2 separate regions of the Homo sapiens genome follow, and region 2 is linked to region 1. The links are contacts of gene promoters, found by promoter capture Hi-C in blood cells and fetal thymus (Javierre and others, 2016). All regions are on one chromosome and are shown on one strand. The core of a region is centred on a gene start or on the middle of the fragment in contact, and the rest is flanking DNA. Distances in the headings are between cores, read along the strand shown.

Region 1 (5,835 bases), core at 1,332-3,831:
ACATTAACAGTCAGCATTCCGCAGCCCCCCCGTGTCCCCATCCATATACTCACCCTCCTTATACGTAATAAAAATAAGAATTCATTTTAAAAATGAATATCGCTTCCTTCCTTTGTTAAAGCCTTCCAAGGACTTTCTCGACAGCCTGCAGGATAAACACCATCTCCTTCGCCAAACTATACCCTAGTAATTCCTCGCCTACTGCCCCAGTCTTCCCTCCCTGGCCTCTGCAGTGCTGCTCCCTCTGTGGCAACTAACACCTCAGCCCTCTTCCTCTGCATTGTAATGATTCCTAATTATTCCAGGAGCCACCTCCTCAAAGCCTTCCATGATCCCTTCCCTCCCCACTATCTGTTTCTCTCGTAGATTTTTGAAGGTAGAAACCGTGTTTTGCATTTGTTTCCCAATTTGTTAAATGAACAAGTGAGTAAATTTATTAATTTCCCATAACTCCTTTCCTCCCTTTCCTTCTCCTCTACCCTACCAATGGCTCTTTTAAAATAAGAACAATCCAGTCCCCTGTGAATGTTTGTGCATGTATGAGATGCACAATGATCACGTATGACCTTCAACCAGCAATTTGCGAAGTCACGACTGGTTTCCATTCATCCAGACACACCTTACTACCTAGTATCCCCTCCTCCCACATCAAATAAGGGTATAGTAGGGGCAGTTTGTGGTCTCAACCCTACCGAGGTAAGAGGGCACAAAGAAAATTGATATGCATGAGACCTCGGGCATTCTTCAGGTAAAAAGATGGCTTAATTGGAACATTCGGAGGCTTAAGAGAAAATCGGGAGTGGTGGAAGGAAGCAATCAAGCAGGGTAATATTTCCCAAATGCCTACCGGCCACGTGCCAGACACAATGTTAGGCTCTATCTGTGATGTCTTATTTAACTGAAGAGGGAGAAGAATGTGAATAAATGGCTGGATTCTTGAATTGCATAAAAAGAGAAGCCAATACACTTTTTCCTTTATTTCGTTTAAACAAGTAATTTGTGCATTTATAGCTTTTTCTTTTAATTAAAAGTAAGAGTGGAAAAAAGTCACTGAAATGTCTAATTTCAAATAAAATATTTGATTTCTAATTTCTGTTTTTCAAACAAACAAAAAACCCCAGAAGCATTATGAAAGGTTTTACTGTGCAGGAGGAAATGTTACTAGGTTGATGGGCCTAGCCAGAACACCTAACATCCTCCATCTAGTCTCCAAACTGAGGCTGTGGCCCTGCAGAGAGCGCCACCCGGAAGCCACTTTTATAGAAGCTTTTACACACAATGCTTGATTTTTTTTTTTTTTTTTCCGAGACGGAGTCTCGCTTTGTCGCCCAGGCTGGAGTGCAGTGGCGCGATCTGGGCTCACTGCAAGCTCCGCCTCCTGGGTTGACGCCATTCTCCTGCCTCAGCTTCCCGAGTAGCTGGGACTACAGGCGCCCGCCACCAAGCCTGGCTAATTTTTTTTTATTTTTAGTGGAGACAGAGTTTCACCGTGTTAGCCAGGATGGTCTCGATCTCCTGACCTCGGGATCCGCCCGCCTCGGCCTCCCAAAGTGCTGGGAGTATAGGCGTGAGCCACCGCGCCTGGCCTATACTTGATTTTTAATGAAAACATTCTTAAATTCATATGGCTAACGCAAATTTATTTTCTGTAGGCATAACATCAAAAACACCTGGCAGGATTGCCCCATTCCCAGCACTGTCTATTTCTCCCCTAGTATCAGTGGGACTCCACTGATGCACAGCTGTGATCTACTAAAACTTCTCTCAAAACTTTCTCCTCTCCTTAGGTCAGCAGCCCCGCCCCTGATCTATTTGGAAATCCCCTGAATAAAAGTTGAATATCATAAACCAAAGCGAACACCCAGAAATTCAAATTCAACCCGTAGGTAAAAAATTTCTCAAGTGACTGTAGACGTAGATGTCTCCAGTGTCGCCTAATAAGGTAGAAGAGGCCAGTGCGATACTGTCTTTACACCCTTAACTTGGGTGCTAGAATATTTATCTTCGTCATCATTTTATCATCCAAACTATTTTGCATAACTTTCATGGGTGCAGAAAATGTTTTTTAAGTGCTTGGTAAAATTAATAGTGATATTCATTCATTCATCTCACTGAACAGGCAATAAATTCCTTGACGACAAGGGCCTTGGGGGGGTCACATCTTCATCTTTGGTTTATGAGTCCTGTGCGTCTTGGTACAAGCAATACTACTATGAGCCGGCAAGTCAGACTTATTTGGTAGGGGACCAAAGGAAAGAACATGTTTTGATTGCTAAGAAAACATTTTGTTCTCTATCCTTTACTGGGCTGGCAGGCAAAGGAAATGTTCTTATGAGCACTCACATTGAAAACTTAAGTTCTTCACCAAATGCAGAGACTCTGAAGGCCACGCCGCTGCGGGCTGCCTCCACAATTCGACCGTCTCGGCGGGCCACGAGATCCTGGCCACGGATGCGGTGGCCGCGCCTCTGCTCGCACGTTCCCCCGGCCTCTGGACTCCCTCCCTCCCTCAATCCCTCCCTCCGGCGGGCGTCGCTGGCGGGTGGCTAGGCCCAACGGCAGGAAGCCGACGCTATCCTCCGTTCCGCGGCGCCGGGTCCGCCTTCCGTCTGTTCTAGGGCCTGCTCCTGCGCGGCAGCTGCTTTAGAAGGTCTCGAGCCTCCTGTACCTTCCCAGGGATGAACCGGGCCTTCCCTCTGGAAGGCGAGGGTTCGGGCCACAGTGAGCGAGGGCCAGGGCGGTGGGCGCGCGCAGAGGGAAACCGGATCAGTTGAGAGAGAATCAAGAGTAGCGGATGAGGCGCTTGTGGGGCGCGGCCCGGAAGCCCTCGGGCGCGGGCTGGGAGAAGGAGTGGGCGGAGGCGCCGCAGGAGGCTCCCGGGGCCTGGTCGGGCCGGCTGGGCCCCGGGCGCAGTGGAAGAAAGGGACGGGCGGTGCCCGGTTGGGCGTCCTGGCCAGCTCACCTTGCCCTGGCGGCTCGCCCCGCCCGGCACTTGGGAGGAGCAGGGCAGGGCCCGCGGCCTTTGCATTCTGGGACCGCCCCCTTCCATTCCCGGGCCAGCGGCGAGCGGCAGCGACGGCTGGAGCCGCAGCTACAGCATGAGAGCCGGTGCCGCTCCTCCACGCCTGCGGACGCGTGGCGAGCGGAGGCAGCGCTGCCTGTTCGCGCCATGGGGGCACCGTGGGGCTCGCCGACGGCGGCGGCGGGCGGGCGGCGCGGGTGGCGCCGAGGCCGGGGGCTGCCATGGACCGTCTGTGTGCTGGCGGCCGCCGGCTTGACGTGTACGGCGCTGATCACCTACGCTTGCTGGGGGCAGCTGCCGCCGCTGCCCTGGGCGTCGCCAACCCCGTCGCGACCGGTGGGCGTGCTGCTGTGGTGGGAGCCCTTCGGGGGGCGCGATAGCGCCCCGAGGCCGCCCCCTGACTGCCGGCTGCGCTTCAACATCAGCGGCTGCCGCCTGCTCACCGACCGCGCGTCCTACGGAGAGGCTCAGGCCGTGCTTTTCCACCACCGCGACCTCGTGAAGGGGCCCCCCGACTGGCCCCCGCCCTGGGGCATCCAGGCGCACACTGCCGAGGAGGTGGATCTGCGCGTGTTGGACTACGAGGAGGCAGCGGCGGCGGCAGAAGCCCTGGCGACCTCCAGCCCCAGGCCCCCGGGCCAGCGCTGGGTTTGGATGAACTTCGAGTCGCCCTCGCACTCCCCGGGGCTGCGAAGCCTGGCAAGTAACCTCTTCAACTGGACGCTCTCCTACCGGGCGGACTCGGACGTCTTTGTGCCTTATGGCTACCTCTACCCCAGAAGCCACCCCGGCGACCCGCCCTCAGGCCTGGCCCCGCCACTGTCCAGGAAACAGGGGCTGGTGGCATGGGTGGTGAGCCACTGGGACGAGCGCCAGGCCCGGGTCCGCTACTACCACCAACTGAGCCAACATGTGACCGTGGACGTGTTCGGCCGGGGCGGGCCGGGGCAGCCGGTGCCCGAAATTGGGCTCCTGCACACAGTGGCCCGCTACAAGTTCTACCTGGCTTTCGAGAACTCGCAGCACCTGGATTATATCACCGAGAAGCTCTGGCGCAACGCGTTGCTCGCTGGGGCGGTGCCGGTGGTGCTGGGCCCAGACCGTGCCAACTACGAGCGCTTTGTGCCCCGCGGCGCCTTCATCCACGTGGACGACTTCCCAAGTGCCTCCTCCCTGGCCTCGTACCTGCTTTTCCTCGACCGCAACCCCGCGGTCTATCGCCGCTACTTCCACTGGCGCCGGAGCTACGCTGTCCACATCACCTCCTTCTGGGACGAGCCTTGGTGCCGGGTGTGCCAGGCTGTACAGAGGGCTGGGGACCGGCCCAAGAGCATACGGAACTTGGCCAGCTGGTTCGAGCGGTGAAGCCGCGCTCCCCTGGAAGCGACCCAGGGGAGGCCAAGTTGTCAGCTTTTTGATCCTCTACTGTGCATCTCCTTGACTGCCGCATCATGGGAGTAAGTTCTTCAAACACCCATTTTTGCTCTATGGGAAAAAAACGATTTACCAATTAATATTACTCAGCACAGAGATGGGGGCCCGGTTTCCATATTTTTTGCACAGCTAGCAATTGGGCTCCCTTTGCTGCTGATGGGCATCATTGTTTAGGGGTGAAGGAGGGGGTTCTTCCTCACCTTGTAACCAGTGCAGAAATGAAATAGCTTAGCGGCAAGAAGCCGTTGAGGCGGTTTCCTGAATTTCCCCATCTGCCACAGGCCATATTTGTGGCCCGTGCAGCTTCCAAATCTCATACACAACTGTTCCCGATTCACGTTTTTCTGGACCAAGGTGAAGCAAATTTGTGGTTGTAGAAGGAGCCTTGTTGGTGGAGAGTGGAAGGACTGTGGCTGCAGGTGGGACTTTGTTGTTTGGATTCCTCACAGCCTTGGCTCCTGAGAAAGGTGAGGAGGGCAGTCCAAGAGGGGCCGCTGACTTCTTTCACAAGTACTATCTGTTCCCCTGTCCTGTGAATGGAAGCAAAGTGCTGGATTGTCCTTGGAGGAAACTTAAGATGAATACATGCGTGTACCTCACTTTACATAAGAAATGTATTCCTGAAAAGCTGCATTTAAATCAAGTCCCAAATTCATTGACTTAGGGGAGTTCAGTATTTAATGAAACCCTATGGAGAATTTATCCCTTTACAATGTGAATAGTCATCTCCTAATTTGTTTCTTCTGTCTTTATGTTTTTCTATAACCTGGATTTTTTAAATCATATTAAAATTACAGATGTGAAAATAAAGCAGAAGCAACCTTTTTCCCTCTTCCCAGAAAACCAGTCTGTGTTTACAGACAGAAGAGAAGGAAGCCATAGTGTCACTTCCACACAATTATTTATTTCATGTCTTTACTGGACCTGAAATTTAAACTGCAATGCCAGTCCTGCAGGAGTGCTGGCATTACCCTCTGCAGAACAGTGAAAGGTATTGCACTACATTATGGAATCATGCAAAAGGAAAAAAAGTTTCATGATATCTGTTGTTGGCAGTTTTTGTTTATCTCTGACAGTTTTTAGTTAAATGTTTAGATCCTCAGAACTACATTAGTGCCTACTATTAACTTACTCTGTCTCTTGTTAAAGGCTAAATCTGCGCTTCTCCCTGGTGCCAGCAGGTTCCCCTCACAGTCAATGCAGTGGTATAGCATATCCTCACATTTCTAGTGCCCTTGAGACTGTGCTATGGAACCAATCTTGAACATACATGCATTGACTTGACAAGTTACTGAGTAAGCAGCATATTCAGCAGGTGCCACTACATGCCTACTCTGCCAGACACTGAGCTTGGGGCCCTAGGGAAGATAGAGAATTAT
Region 2 (5,835 bases), core at 2,073-4,572, 1.3 Mb before region 1:
CAAATTACTACTGTTAACATTTTAGAGTACATGTTCACAGGCACACACACATACACACAAACAACTCTCATTATGTTCTCATTCTGTCTCCTAGCTTTAAATACTATCTATATGCTGATAACATCCAAATTTACATTTCCAGACCAGACCTTTCACTAATGCTAGACATAAAATCCAATTGCCTACTTGACATGTGCACTTTGATATCTAATGGACATCTCAAACTTAACATGCCCCAAACTGAACTGGTCTTCACCAGCAAGCCTGCTATTCCTGCAACTTTACCCATTTGTATTAGTTATCTATTGCTGTATAACAATTTATGGCTATTGTCCGGAGCCCTCAGTTTTGTGCAACATGGAGCTTTCCTTAGGGCTGCTTGAGTCTCCTCACAACATGACAGCTGGCTTCCCTTCAAGTGAGTGATTCAAAAAGAGAAGGCAAGGAGGAAGGCACAATGCACTTTATTATCTAGTATTGAAGTCATACATCATCACTTCTACCATAATCTATTCATTAGACACAAGTTACTAAGTCCAGCCCCCACTTGAAGAGAAGGAAATTAAGTTTCTCCTACTTAAGAGAAAAACATCAAAGACTCTGTAGGTATATTACAAAACCACCATAATATCCCAGTTAATAACAATTTCATTCTTCTAGATACTCAGGTCCCTGGAGTCTTCCATGTCTCCTCCGTTTTACTCTCTAACCCTCACCCATTCTGTCAGGAAATCACACTGGTTCTTTCAAAATATACCTAGAGACTAACTATGTCTATTCACCTCCACTGCCACTACCATACTGCTCTGAAGGACACCCATATCTTTCCTGAATTACTGAAATATTCTTCTGCTTTTACTTTTGCCCCCTTACAGTTTATTCGTCACATGGCAGTCAATGCAATCCTTTTAAAACAAGGCAGATCATGACACTCCTCTGTTCAAACCCTGCATTGTTCTCCCCTTCCCTCAGGGTAAAAGTCACAGTTTACATTACCTACAAGACCCTACATAATTTGGCCCCATCGCCACCTCCATCACTCTGCTTCAGCCACTTTGTCCTCCTTGCTATTCCTTTAGTTATTCTTTCTGCCTGGAGTAGTCGTTCCCCAGATATCCATTTGGCTAATTTCCTTACCTCTTCCAGGTCTTTACTCAAATTGTACCTTTTCAATAAGGCCCATCCCAACCATTTTATAAAATACTGTAAACTGCCTAGCCCCCACCCTCATTCCTGATTTCCCTTACCCTGCTCTTGTTTTCCATAGCACTTTTCACCTAACATACTATATAATTAACTGGTTATTGTCTTTACTGCTTACTCTCTGCTTCCCATTACTAAATACAAGCTCCATTAAGAACAGGAATTTTTATCTGTTTTGCTCACGATGTATCTCAAGTGCCTAGGGGAAGCTCAATGAATATGTGTTGAATTAATGAAAATATAAAACTTAAAAAAACTGAAATAATTTGAAACTTTTTTTCAGTTAAAGAAAATGTACATGCTGAACATCTTTCCACATCACTTTTAATGGTAGGCAATGTAAAACTATACCACAATTTAACCAATTTCCTTTCATTGTACTTTAGTTAACAGCTTTTCTCTATATACTATAATGAAAACCTCTTGATATAAGTATGGGTTACATTACTTATTTCCTCGGGAAATATTCTGAAGGAGAATTGCTGGGTCAAACGATAAGCACTTTTTTTTTTTGAGACAGAGTCTCGCTCTGTTGCCCAGGCTGGAGTGCAGTGGCACGATCTCGGCTCACGGCAAGCTCCGCCTCCCGGGTTCACGCCATTCTCCTGCCTCAGCCACCCGAGTAGCTGGGACTACAGGCGCCCGCCACCACGCCCGGCTAATTTTTTGTGTTTTTAGTAGAGACGGGGTTTCACCGTGTTAGCCAGGATGGTCTCCATCTCCTGACCTTGTGATGATCCGGCCGCCTCAGCCTCCCAAAGTGCTGGGATTACAGGCGTGAGCCACCGCGCCAGGCCGATATGTACATTTTTAAGGCTAAATATATTATCCCTTTCCTGCCAGCAATGCATGAGAATACCCATTTCTCCATATCCTCACTAAGACAGGTTATTAATGAATGAAACCTGAGTTCACATTTGGGTTCTGCCATTAATAAGCTTAAAATTACTGTATCTATAAAATGGAAATCATGATAGCACCTATCTCAGTTGCTGTGAGGATTAAAGACAATGCATAGGTAAAGCACTTAGCACAGTGTTTGCACACAGTAAGCACGCAATAAAATGTTAAGTTTATTGTTTCTACCATTATTACGGCCTGAAAACAATTCCATTGCAAAGTGCCCTGCAGGCTATTAGAGGAATAACAACAACCTATCAGTTACTTATAATACGGTATTTTTTAAAGTTCAACGGTTTTCTTGAAGATTCCATTTAGATTTAATTTTTTAATTACATTTAATCAGCATCGAATGAAAAATACTCCCAAGTACAGTACGTATAACTGGGAGAGCGATCATTTTACCACCCTGATCCTTACTTTTTTATTTTGGACAGCGGGAAACCGTAAACAAACACGCCCTGTCGCCAAGAAACAAGATGGGAGGAAAGCAGCAAAAAACAAACAAACTTTGCCAAGTGAGCAAGCTACAGGTATCTCCTGTTCATTCTGGTCAGCACGACCTGTTCGAAACTCTGGGATAACAAGGAGTAAAATGAGGATTCATCTGGAGATTCCGAATGGGGCTGCAGCATTTGAAAAGCAGAACAATGATAACTTCCTTAAAGCATCATTGGGAAAAAAACCGTGAGTCACGGCGCAGGCTCTTGCGTCTTTGACGTGTACCCACAGGGCCCCGCCCCACTCAACACACACACTCACCCACACGCGCGCGCGCAAACACACACACACATATTTTAACGCCCTATTCAGGCCTGGGCTTCGTCTGACCAAGTTCTCGGGGTCAGATAACCGGTTCCTTTGCGGATGCTGACCACGGGGTCAGTTAGCAATCGGGCCTCAACTCAGGCCAAGCGCGGGGCCCCTGGAGGTGTGGGCGCACCCGACTCCCGCACAGACCCCCGCCCACGTCAGCCCCGGCTCCCTGCCCACGCACAACACCGACCTAGCTCCTCGCGCCTCGCCGCCCCGGCAGCCGCCGGCGTCGCCGCCGCTTCCATCTCTCGCGGGTCTCCAGGACGCCGCCGCCCGAGTGCTCACTCTCCCGCCGCTGCGTGGCCGGCGTCAGGCCCAGGCCTACCTCCCCTGCCCGGAGGGACCCGCGCCTGGTGCCCGCCTCCCTGCCCCGGCGCTCCCCAACCGCGCGGCGAGGAGCATGCGCAGTGGGACAGCCCGGCTCGGCGGGCACCGCCGGCGAGGGGCGGGAGGGGCCGAAGACCCGAGGACTGCTGCGAGGCCGGGTTGGGTAACCCGAGAGGAGGGTTGGGTAACCTGAGATCAGCGAGGGTGGGACCTTAGAGCTAGCCGAGACCCGGGCCCATAGCTCCCTGGGGGTTTTAAAGATGACGGCGAACTTAAATTTGGGGCGCCTGTCCGTATGCAAGGCGTTAGCGTTCTGTAAGTCACCTTGGAGAATGCGAAGAAGGACGGGATTTGTCCCCTACCCATGCTGAGGTTCTGACTACTCTGGTTATTCGTCTCCCTGTTTCTATAGTTAGAGTTACAGGAGACACTTAAATAGAATTTAATTAAGTCATATACAATTTCACTTTCAGGATATTTCAATGTCCTTCCAGATATTTGACGTTGACCGTGGTGCTGAAAGAAAATTAAGGTAAAGACTAAGTGTACTGATGTAGTTTCAAGTACTCCTAAGCACCATACATACATTATCTTTAATTCTGACTACAATTTGTGAGATAATTCTAATATTTACATTAACGCTAAAGATGAAGGGATTAAGGCACGGAGGTAAGTAACGTGTCTGGGGACAGGAAGCTTGTACATGGCAGAAGTAGAATCCTTCTGCCTTCAGAGCTGGAGCTCTCGAAAAATATGCAAAGCTGGCCTCCCAGATGGGTACCAATGAATATTCGATGAATCAATGGATGAAGCAAGCTTTTGGTTTAAAAGGAAAATATTTATTTTAATTTTAAAATCGCTTTCTTTTTTTTTTCACTTCATAGTTCTTGGAAGTCAGTACACCAGACAATCCTTTTTATTTGTGTCCGTTTCATTCAGTGGGGTTGCTTTAGGAAAGGGTTTTTTTGGGGGGGAGTGGGTCTGATTAACAGTCACTGATGTAACTATATGGCAATGGTGTTAAATATTTAAAATTCTGAGATTAAAAAGGTACGCAGTTACATACTATCTACATCTTTCCTCCTGTTGCATCCTCTGTAGGCTTTCACTAGATAACTAGTGATAATGACAGTTTGCCAACCCCCTTTCTTTTCCTTTAAGTGAACCCAATTTGTTCACATACATACACATGCAAATCCCAAAAGAAGGTTTTATTTGAAGTGTTCCTGACAAATAAAGGGGTAAAGGAGATTTTTTTTAAAAAAGAAGAAGAAGAAGAAATCTATTCTGGAACATAGCTAGAGCAATGTTCCCTAACCTGTGTTGGGGTGGATCACCTGGTTAAAGATCAGCAGGAGAGAAGATAGGCATCAGACAGAAATTATAGGACCAAGGTAATTTTCCATAAACCACTCATTATAATGAGAACATGTGGGACAGCATCTTAAAAGAACATTATCCTTTGAGAGTTAAAAGGGATCAAAAGTCATTGTCCCCTAATCTCAGCTTCAGGGAAAGCAGATCTGGCAATATGGAAGGAAGAAAAGTTTGACTTGTAGTATAGGCCTGAAATCTTTTGAAGAGGGTTGGGCTGAGGTAGGAGGCCCAATGTCTTTACAGTGATGTGGAGATAAAGCAAGTGATAACAATGATCATAAGATTCAAGAGAAATATGTTTTTCATGCATCTCTACTTGAGAACATATTTACTAGGACTTCTACTCCAGGTCTTATAAATTAGAAGCAGATATAAAGTACAGCTGTATCAAAATAGAGACATTATACAGAATGTGACAATTTGAACCCTGGAAATTCATTTCTTTTCCTGACTTTAACTTCTTGCATCACATCTTAACTACTTCCTTCTTTGCAACTGCAGCACTTTGTTCGTATCTCTGTTACAACACTTCTCCACTTATAATTATTCCTCTTTCTGGGCTTTATACTATGCTGTATACTATTATGTGCAAGGCACTGTGCTAGGCCTGTTGAGGAATTAACTGTATTTGTCTTTGTCCAAACAGGCCTAGCACAGTGACTTACAAATACCAGTCACTCAATGAACAGTTGTTGAAAGTTACTGAATATAGCCTCATAGGTATATGAAAGGAAACATTTAGAAGTCTTTAATGTATTCAAGCACATTTTACGGAGCACCTTCCATATATCAGGAAGTATGCTAGATGCTGGGGCTAGAAGGGCAAATAATGTTGGTATGGTCCCTACTGTCATGGAGTTCATAGTATATAGCATGTGACAGAACAGAACAAAACAAAATACTAAATATGTCATTACAATTGTTGGTTAGGAAAATAACAGGGTACCACCACGGAACCTACTTTAGATTGAGAAGGTGGGATAGTCTTATCTGAAGACACTTAAGCTGACACATGAAGGTAAGAAGGAGTTGGCTTGGTGTGTGTAGAGGGAAGAGCATTTCCAGCAGTGAATCTAGCCTTTCCTCTTTTACAGATGGAGAAATGGTTCTGTTTTAGACACCTGTGGAACATCTAGATAGAGTTGTCTATTATATAATAGTTAGATCTCTAAAGTTTTCTTATGTGAAAAATAATGTCACCAACCTTACAAG

The links. The method cuts DNA at HindIII sites, captures the fragments that hold promoters and counts their contacts. A CHiCAGO score of 5 or more calls a contact.
Region 2: the fragment with the promoter of SLC36A4 here is called in contact with the fragment with the promoter of FUT4 in region 1 in 5 of 17 cell types (activated CD4 T cells, total B cells, neutrophils and 2 more); the score reaches 9.0 in activated CD4 T cells.

What each region holds. Positions count from the first base shown.
Region 1 is chr11:94,541,340-94,547,174 of GRCh38, forward strand. It overlaps FUT4 (fucosyltransferase 4), which reads left to right and starts at 2,582. Exons shown (of 1, transcript NM_002033.4): 1 at 2,582-5,835. The coding sequence starts at 2,795. The coding sequence ends at 4,387. It overlaps PIWIL4-AS1 (PIWIL4 antisense RNA 1), which reads right to left. Exons shown (of 5, transcript NR_135093.1): 5 at 3,993-4,507. RefSeq lists a silencer at 2,770-3,339 and an enhancer at 4,159-4,833. The HindIII fragment of the contact is 5,462 bases long and covers 1,265-5,835 here.
Region 2 is chr11:93,194,669-93,200,503 of GRCh38, forward strand. SLC36A4 (solute carrier family 36 member 4) reads right to left here and starts at 3,323. Exons shown (of 11, transcript NM_152313.4): 1 at 3,110-3,323. The coding sequence starts at 3,164. RefSeq lists a silencer at 3,085-3,464. The HindIII fragment of the contact is 1,801 bases long and covers 2,140-3,940 here.